2 separate regions of the Homo sapiens genome follow, and region 2 is linked to region 1. The links are contacts of gene promoters, found by promoter capture Hi-C in human tissues and cell types (Jung and others, 2019). All regions are on one chromosome and are shown on one strand. The core of a region is centred on a gene start or on the middle of the fragment in contact, and the rest is flanking DNA. Distances in the headings are between cores, read along the strand shown.

What was found. The method cuts DNA at HindIII sites, captures the fragments that hold promoters and counts their contacts. A contact is called where the count stands out against the background at its distance.
Region 2: a fragment that was not itself captured here is called in contact with the fragment with the promoter of RMND5A in region 1 in 2 of the 25 tissues and cell types used here (dorsolateral prefrontal cortex and hippocampus).

Annotation. Positions count from the first base shown.
Region 1 is chr2:86,718,890-86,723,288 of GRCh38, forward strand. RMND5A (required for meiotic nuclear division 5 homolog A) reads left to right here and starts at 1,402. Exons shown (of 9, transcript NM_022780.4): 1 at 1,402-1,920. The coding sequence starts at 1,779. RNF103-CHMP3 (RNF103-CHMP3 readthrough) reads right to left here and starts at 2,233. Exons shown (of 8, transcript NM_001198954.1): 1 at 2,093-2,233. RefSeq lists an enhancer at 595-1,128 and silencers at 1,249-1,438, 1,322-1,480, 1,959-2,018. The HindIII fragment of the contact is 16,881 bases long and covers 1-4,399 here.
Region 2 is chr2:86,617,136-86,621,670 of GRCh38, forward strand. RNF103-CHMP3 (RNF103-CHMP3 readthrough) reads right to left here. Exons shown (of 8, transcript NM_001198954.1): 3 at 3,195-3,334. The coding sequence starts at 3,326. RNF103 (ring finger protein 103) reads right to left here. Exons shown (of 4, transcript NM_005667.4): 2 at 3,195-3,334. It overlaps CHMP3-AS1 (CHMP3 and RNF103 antisense RNA 1), which reads left to right. Exons shown (of 6, transcript NR_183901.1): 6 at 41-314. Among named protein-coding and RNA genes, the nearest start is that of RNF103, 4.5 kb to the right of the region's middle. RefSeq lists a silencer at 157-206. The HindIII fragment of the contact is 6,359 bases long and covers 1-4,535 here.

The DNA of each region.
Region 1 (4,399 bases), core at 152-2,651:
AATTGCCTACCACCTCACGCCAGGGGCTGTTCTAGGCAAAAAATTTAGACAAGCAGGGGGCCTGCCGTCATGGTTTTATGTAAGTGGTGCAGACAGAAAAATAAAACATCAGATCATTTCAGAGTTTAAGTGGTGTGGAAATAATAAAATGTGTTATGGTATTAACGGTGGGGAGGAAGTACATTAGTGTGGTCAGCCAGGGGAGGACCCTGTAAGGGGACAAGTGAGCTGAGAAGAACTTCAGGATGAAAAAGGTAGGAGGAAGAGTTTTCTGGGCCAAGGAAAGGGCAAGTGCAGAGGCCCTGAGGCACGAACTAGCTGGGCTCCTGAAGAAATGCAAAGGTAGTGCAGCCGATGCTGATCAAGGAGGTCTAGGCCAAGGCTGCAGACGCCATAGCAAGCGATGGGAAGGATTTACCCGAGGGGGTAAAGCCGATCCGATCCGATAGCATAAGGCTTCCTAGGGAGCAAGGGCCAGGCTGCCCGGCTCTCCAGCGCGTGTTCTTTCCACCCGGCTAAGCTGCCCGGCACATGGCTCTGGGGCGAGGCCACCGTCAGGAGAGGTTCCAGGCCAAGGGGCCAAAGGGCCACGGTCCGCGGGGGATGGGGACATGACCTCCTGGGTGTCGCAAGCCCGGGGCAGCGCTGACAGCCGGCGCGGGCCTTTCGCGAGCAGCAAGCGGCTCCCCTCACCCGGGCCCAATCACCCCCGCCTTTAATTCCCATTAGGGACCCCCCGCCGACGCAGAACCAGCCCCCGGGCGGCCTGGCTTGGTTTTTCATTCCCGGGAGATGGATCCGTCGCCCAAAAGTTCGGAATGACGGTACCCCTTTCCCTTAAGATCGATGAGGAGACGAAATAAATTGGGATCAGGGCGACGTCCTATGGAAAACAGCCTTTTGTATTTTTGTCTAGTTTTCCCCCAAGGCTTTCCATAAACTACTCGTTTCTCGGTACGCTCTCCAAGTCACCCCCTCCAACAGCGAGCCCGTTGGTTTGGCCCCTCAGCCCGGATTGGCTGAAGGCTTACGCCTCGGCCAGGGATTGGCTTCTTACCACTCCCCGCGCCCATTGGTTGGGGTTCCCCGCTTCTGGGCGGAGTGGTGAGGGCCGGTTTCCGCCTCCTTGTTTATGGAGCGCGTAGTTGTTGCGCTCTCCGAGCGCTGGGGCTGTCTCCAAAGTTCCCTATTTAGCTCCTCAGGCCAATTGGGGCCTCGCTCCACCCTCGCCCTCTCCCTCGCACGCCTTCCGTGTGGTACGGCCCACACCATTAGAGTGGCGGCGCGTGTGGGCGCCCGTCGCGTTCCTCCGCCCGTTCTCGCCGGGTCGCACCCCCCACCCCGAGGGTGTACTTGGTACGGCCCGCGCCGCCTCCTTTCCTCGCCCGGGTGGCCATCCCCCTCCCCCCAGTCGGCGGCGCTTGGTGCCGCCCGGGAGAACCAGGTCATCGGTCGGTTCCCGTGAAAACAAAAACAATCGGCCGCGCCGTCGCAGGCACCCGAACGTCGCGAGCGGGGCCTGGGGACGCGGAGCCGAGTGCAGCGAGCGAACGGGAGCAGCGGCGACTCGCCGGGGGGCTAGGGCGCCATGGGGCAGGCGGGCTCCGGCTGCGCGGGGCTCCCCCGGCGCCGCGGCTAGTGCGCCCGCCGCCTCGGCCGCCTCAGCCTCCCGCGCCGCCCGCTTGGGGAACGAGGAGCAGGACGCGGCCTCGGTGGGGCCCGGGCCGAACGGCTGCGGACACCTGGGCGCCGAGGAGCCGAGCGCCGCCGCCTCCGGCATGGATCAGTGCGTGACGGTGGAGCGCGAGCTGGAGAAGGTGCTGCACAAGTTCTCAGGCTACGGGCAGCTGTGCGAGCGCGGCCTGGAGGAGCTCATCGACTACACCGGCGGCCTCAAGCACGAGATCCTGCAGAGCCACGGTAGGGCGGCCCGCGTGGGCGCGCGGGGCATGGCCCACTGCCCGAGCCCCGGTCCCGGCCCCGCGGCGGGAATCCCTCACCCACCCTCGCGCCTCTGGCCCGGCCCTTGCCTCCCCTGAGGCGCGGAGGCCCCCAGACCCCTGAGACTTTTTCCCCTCTTCGTCCGATTTACCTCGAACCTGCCGCGACCTCGCTGCCAATTCAGAAGGAGCGCGAACCACCCGGAAACCCAGCCGGGAGCGGCGGGCTCCAGTCCGGATAAACGTGGGTGAGGGGGCCGCCCATCGCACCTGCAAACTGCCGACCCCCGAGTGGGCGCCCCTCGTCCCCCGCTCCCAGCCGGCCCCGGGAGTCTCACGTGGTGCCCGCGGCGCTGTTCTGTGGGCGGTGACTGAATCGCCTGGGACCCCAGGTTCTGAGTGATGAGGGCAGTGCAGGAAGCTCCGTTTCCCCTCTGTGCCGCCCCGAATCCTTGGCCAGGGGACTTCGTTTCTTCGTTTTATTTTGGAAAGTCGAGCGTTATTCTTAGCTGTGGGTTAACAACAGCCGCTCCTGCAACTTCATGATTTGGCTGCTGTGTGGACGCAGCTCTTAACTCCGCAGCGGCTCTGACATGGTTCCTTGGAAACCAGCTCAATTCAACCCTTCTGTTCTCCCAGTGTACCTTCTGATGACACCGAGGAGGAACGGGCGACATTTGCCCAAGTAAATTGTGCACATGTTGCTAGTTACTTGCTTTGCCTGGTTAAGTTCGTTCAAAAAAAATAAATTTTCCTATAGAAGGTGTTTCACCTAGATTGTTTTTTTTTTTACTGCCCCAAGCCCTGAGGACAGGTACTTTTAAAGGTTTGGTTTTCTTACACTTTAGAAGTCACAGCGATGATTCCTTTTGATCAAGAAGTGAAGGACTTATTTAATGGGTCTTTAATAAGAGGCTGAGGGGGCTTTTCAGCTTGTGGGCTGAACAGAAATTTATGTGAAGGACGGTTTGGTAGCTGGGGGAAGATGCAGATTATTTGTGGCAGGTGAGATGAGGGCAGTGGCGTTAGCTGAGTGTCTCTCTCCTTCTCCTTCATTTTTTCACACTTTCCCAGACTGCGTTTCAGTTGAGGATGGGTGCTGGTCCATGGGAAAGGAGTCTTACAGCAGCTTCTCATTCTGGACACTGCAGTCATTTTTGAACTCCAGGAAGGAAGCAAACCTGCAGTCATAGTGGATGAGATTTTAATATGGAAAAACCGTATTAATTCTCATAGGAGTTGCAATACTAGTATGGAAAAACGAGCAGACCTTGGTGGCTGCCTGTGAAGGGAAATTTGACTGACGTGGCGATGATGATATAGTTGGTAGATACAGGGAAGTGAAGGTGGAATGGGACAGGAATCCTGGGAAGACTTTGAATTTGGTTTTGGACATGTGAAGTAAGGTTGAAGGGCTTAATGAAGATAGAATCGAGGGCTTTCCTATTTACTGGTGGCTGGAGATGCATAGGTCTAAGATTGTTTTCTGATGTCATTTCTAGGAGGACAGTGGAGGGGATCACTTAGATTGCACAGAAGAAAGACTAGAGTCTAACCACAGTCTTGAATTTTCCTTGGCGAGTGGAGAGCCAAGGCTAGATAGAGCCAGCAGAAATCGAAAAGGGCGAGGACTTAGAAAAGGAGAGATTGGTCAGCTTTTATTTGGCTATTGGGAGTCAGTAACCCTCTGTGCTTGCAGTTTCATAGAATTGCTAAGACAAGCCAGATTACTGGGGGTTAAGAAGAAAAATTCGATGTGAACCGAGGTGTGGGAAATCCAGTACAGCGGTGGGAGGTATTCCCTCTGTGCTCCCGGCCCTGCCAAGGAACCAGTGGAGGAAGAGAATGAAGGGCCTAGACTTGGAGAGGTGGAAGGAACATTTCGTTTTTAGGGACCAGGTCATAGGCAGAGTTTGAGAGGAAAATGATGGAACAGAAAGTACCTTTCTTCCATGAGAGAGGATGTAAGTTGAAGGGGGATGTGATTGTGAGCTTTGTTTTAGAAAATTTAGGGCCAGGCTCAGATGGATAAAATGATGGTGAGAAATTGCTGAGGCAGGAATTTGTTTTTGACTCTCCACTGGGTACTAGGGAACTTTTCTCAGAATTTATGGTTTGAGGGGTATTGGCCACACAGTATGCTATGCTGTTAAAAACAGTCTGAGTTGGTGAGTTTGTGTGTTCCCTTTTCAGCCTCCTAATTTTTTCCCTCTTGTCTACCAAATTGCTAGTCTTATATTGGTATCTCTTTGATTTCCTTTAATTCTTCAATAATAGGATTAAGTGACTAAAGGTAGTTATAAAACATGAAAGAAAATAAATACCACAAGTGCCAGGTCTAGTTTCCCAAATAAAATCTTTCTTCTTTTGGTGTTTTTTTGTGTAAAGATAAACATCATGCTTTGGCATCTGGGCTATGGTATTTTTGAAAACAGATGATTTCTAAATTAAAGTTCTCG
Region 2 (4,535 bases), core at 1,136-3,635, 100 kb before region 1:
GCTACCTTGAAAACTAAAATAAATTCTGTTCACATTACAGAGACTATACGTAACATGGACCTGGAAAAGCTTAAAAATATGAAGAGGATTGAACTGGCTGCCATCTGTGCATCTTCATTTATGAAAACACTCCTCATAGACTTAAAACAAATGACAGAGAACAAATTAGTCAGCTTCTTCTAAAATACAGTGGTCTCCCCTTACCCTCAGTTTCACTTTCTGCAGTCAACTGCAGTCCGAAAATACTACATACAATTAGATATTCGGAGAGAGAGACACCACATTTACATAAATGTTATTTCAGTATACTGTTATAATTGTTCTATTTTTATTAGTTGTTGTTGTTACTGTGCCTAACTTACACATTAAACTTTATCACAGGTATGTATGTATAGGAAAAAACATAGACTATATAGGATTTGGTACTATCCACGGTTTCAGGCATCCACTGGGGGTCTTGGAACGCATCCCCCTCAGATAAGGGGGGACTACTGTAAACAGAAAATAACAACAATTCAAATTGTTAAAAACAATTCTTGAAAGTTATCCTTTACAATAGATTAATATATATGATCTGAGCTGAAAGAATGGCAAGCAATGGAGACAATATTTCTCTTCTGTTTCTAGTAGATATTTTCAATTTTAAGCATAGTTTTAAAAAGTACAACCCTCTTTTAAGGGCTTAAACCAAGGTGGCTGTGCTGATTGGCTTAGCTGGCTAGTTCACAGTGCCAAGGACAGGGTTTCAATCTCATTCTTCTCAGTTGTCCTGCCAGAGATTGTTCTTTCAGACCAGGCCAGCCATTTGACAGATGTAAGCCACTGGCCTCAAGGAACACAAGCCAGACAGTGGTGGTCAATGCAAACCTTGAGCATCACTGGAAAAATTAAGCAGGTGTCCTACTGCATTATTTCCATACATAGAAAAACCACAGAAATACATTCTATTTTTAAAGAGTTGTTTTTCAACTATTAATACCTATAAGGTTTAAAAATATTTTCAGAGAAAAAAAATTTAGCAACTAGAATTTATAATGCTACCATTTACTATCATTATTTGTCCTTCACTTCATTTGTCACCTTACCAGAGAATTCCTTGCCACTCTCATCTCCTTAATCTGCTTATTTTTCTTCTTACTACTTTCCACTAACTGATGTTATATTAAATATTTATTTATTTGGTGTCTGCCTCTCCCAACTAGAATGTGAGCTGCCTGACAGAGCAAGGCCTTAGCTTGGTGTGTGTTTCTGGTATATCTTCAGGGCCCAGAACAGGGCCTGGCACACCCACAACTGAATAAACTTTTGATGAATTCTGTCACATATTTATTACAGGAGCTTAATTCATGGATATCTTTAACAGGACATCAAAAACAGTAGATCATTTACAAGCCAAGAACATACTGCTAACTATTGAACCAGAATGTATTTGTTGTCTATAGGCAGCAGCCTATATAGCAAAAGAACTCAAGACTTTTGACATAGCCCTTCCAAGTTTCAAAGGTGTGCAACATCTTCACCATTTATTTCCATGGGATCATTCAATGTGGGTGACATTTAGACACTGAAAGCAGGGCAGTGGGACTGGCTATTCAATTCATCCTCAGTAATAAAATCTAAAATTATCAAAACCAGTGTCTTTCTCAATCAGACTATTAGAAATAAGTACCAGAGAAAAGAAACAGAATAACAATATACTTATACATTAAAGCTTTAAAAAAGCTCCACCTTATTTTTCAACTCCAACTGACACAGAAATAAACTAAAATTTAAATAGATAATGTATAGACTACACTCATACTCTCACATTCTCTCCCATTGCTGAACTTAAAAATTACTGAATTAGATTATCCGGAAGGTAAAAGGACAAATGCAATAGGAAGGATACAATAAAGAAAGGCCATGGATGAACAATGTAAATCTCTGGAAGAATTCCCAAACCTCAACCCTTTAGCACAGTGGACTACAGTACCATTTTATCCTTTTTAGATGTATATGTATTTATTTGAGGCCACGTGCAACAGAAAAATATACCTATTTACAATCATACTGCTAGTCAGTGACAGTACCAGACCTGTAACAGCGACAGTACCAGACCTGCAACTAATGTCTCTGAACTCATAGCTTTTCCTACCATATTTTGCAGTCTTTACTCTCAGAAAGAAATATGAAGAAACTGTTTTAATTTTCATGCCCTGAATCAAACTTTGCCCACTCCAGTGTGAAATGATAAGAGTACCAGTCAAGAAATCAGAAGACCTGGGTTTCATCCTGGTTCAATACTACCAACTAGTTCCATGACCTTGGGCAAGCTACTTCACCTCTCAGAGTCTCAGAAAGGGTTAGTCTGATATAATTTCCAAGCTTCAGCCATTCACAGACTACATTAATAATTTTAGCCACATTCACGCTGTTAATTTACTTGATATGTCACTTTGAATGTACAGTTTTAAAATGTAAATAACTTTAGTCCTGTCCTAAGCAAAATTTATGAAATTTATGTTAATATAATTTTTCTAATTTACATTAAAATATGTAAATGATAATGCATGCCCACTCACCATAAATTACATCTTGGAAAGCATAAAATATTTTTAAGGTCCATCATAGCTCTAAAATTCTAATATGCTAATTAAGTCTCACAGTTTTGCTATCATAAAAACAAGGGTTAAAAATTATAATCTCATCATCCTGAGTTACGTAATGAGCACCCCCACCATTTTCCACAACAGCTCCTCTATAGTCACAAAGTTGGCTATTTCCCTAATACAATGATTCCTTTACTTTTACTTTAGGGTTCTTACTTATATATAAAAATTACTCAGGCCACTGAATTAAAAACTGGAGATAATAAAAACTAAGAGAAACAGTGCAAATCACTAAATAAAAGGGATATATATGTGTATTTCTCAATTCAACAAAGGTCCAATAACTAAAATAGATTTGCTTCTGGGGATTCTAAACAAAAAGTTGACCCCCATCCCCCATCTTTCTCTTTCCCACTACTCAATTTTCATCTTCCTCAGTCTCCAAAACCTTTTTAAGAAGATACTGGAGCCTCCCTAAGAGAACTGAGTTATGTGTGAGAAACAAGACACAAGGACACGGAAGTGTCACTGGCTGGTACATACTATTTTGGTAAAAATAATTTTTTTAGGGCTCTCGAATTATCAAATTATTACTGCTTTTCATACCTGAACCAGCCAGATGCCATCTTTTGTGTCTTCCACAAGCTCATAGAAGTGCATTTCACCACTGAAATTGGTACTAGAAACCGATTCGGATGCTTCTTCTTCCTTGAGAGCAGAATAGAGCTCACCCTCCATCAAGTCACCTGAAGAAAGGAAAAGAATAACACTAATAAGGTTGCAAGAATCCTAGATTCCCAATTTCAGTAATTCTATTTTTTACACTGTTAAGAATCATGATATTGTACTTTCATTGTATTTTATAGACAAGAACTACTAGAAGAACCTGGATATACCCACTTAGGAGTCATACATTCAATAAATATGTAGTAAGAACTTCCTATGCATCAGGGAAAAGTGAACAAAATAGACAAAAATCCATCTCTTATAGAACAGGGCTTATATTTTAGTGGGGTTATCACATAATTATTAGGAACTTACCAAATTTGTACCACTCCAAAAAGGCACAACTTTCTTAATTATTTAGTTTTATGAATGACACATACAGGCTTCATATACATTTTTAAACAGTATGGCTTATATGCTTCTTACTTAAAAGATGTAGAATTGGGTTCACAGAATTTGCCATCAGCCCTGCTTAAAAGAGCAACAGGGTTTGTATGACTTGGAGGTTAGAACTTTACCTGTTAGACAGAACAAACTCCATATTCATATACAAATTTATATTATAAATTTAGAGCTTGTATCATTAAACAAAAAGGAAAGGAAAACACTAAAATCAAATTATTTTAACTTTCGCCTTAAATATTAAACAGTGAGAAACCAAGTACTGCACCATGATAGCAGCAAAACCATTCACAATAAACACTTAAATTTTAAACTGCTATACCATGACTTTTCTGCCATAAAACGTGTGATTTGAGTCATACTGGGCTGTGCGTCTTAAAGTTAAATGTGGACTTCTAGTACATTCAATGTGCCAAGTATTTTTAGGCCCAAAAGAAGGCAATAATAAATAACAGTCAAAAGAAAAAAAAATGTGTGACCAAATTATTTTCCATAAAAAAATGATGGCTTTGGCAGTTGAGACACTTCTCATCTCTAAACCAAGAGAGTTTATTTATTAGAGATCTTTTACCCTAGTTACTCCACTTCTTCCCCCTATGGTAGAAATAAGAATCGCCATAAACCAGTCAGCAAACAAGGGGCAAGAATAATATACGATTTTATATTTTCTCTAAAGAAACATTTATCACTTCTGCAGAGTGTGTTCCTCTCCTCTACCCTAATAGTGAGATATGAGTTTTATAACCCGCAACCTACAAATATCCAAGTGTTAAACTGCTAGCGAGCTCATACTCTTGTCTATCACGCTACATGTCTATA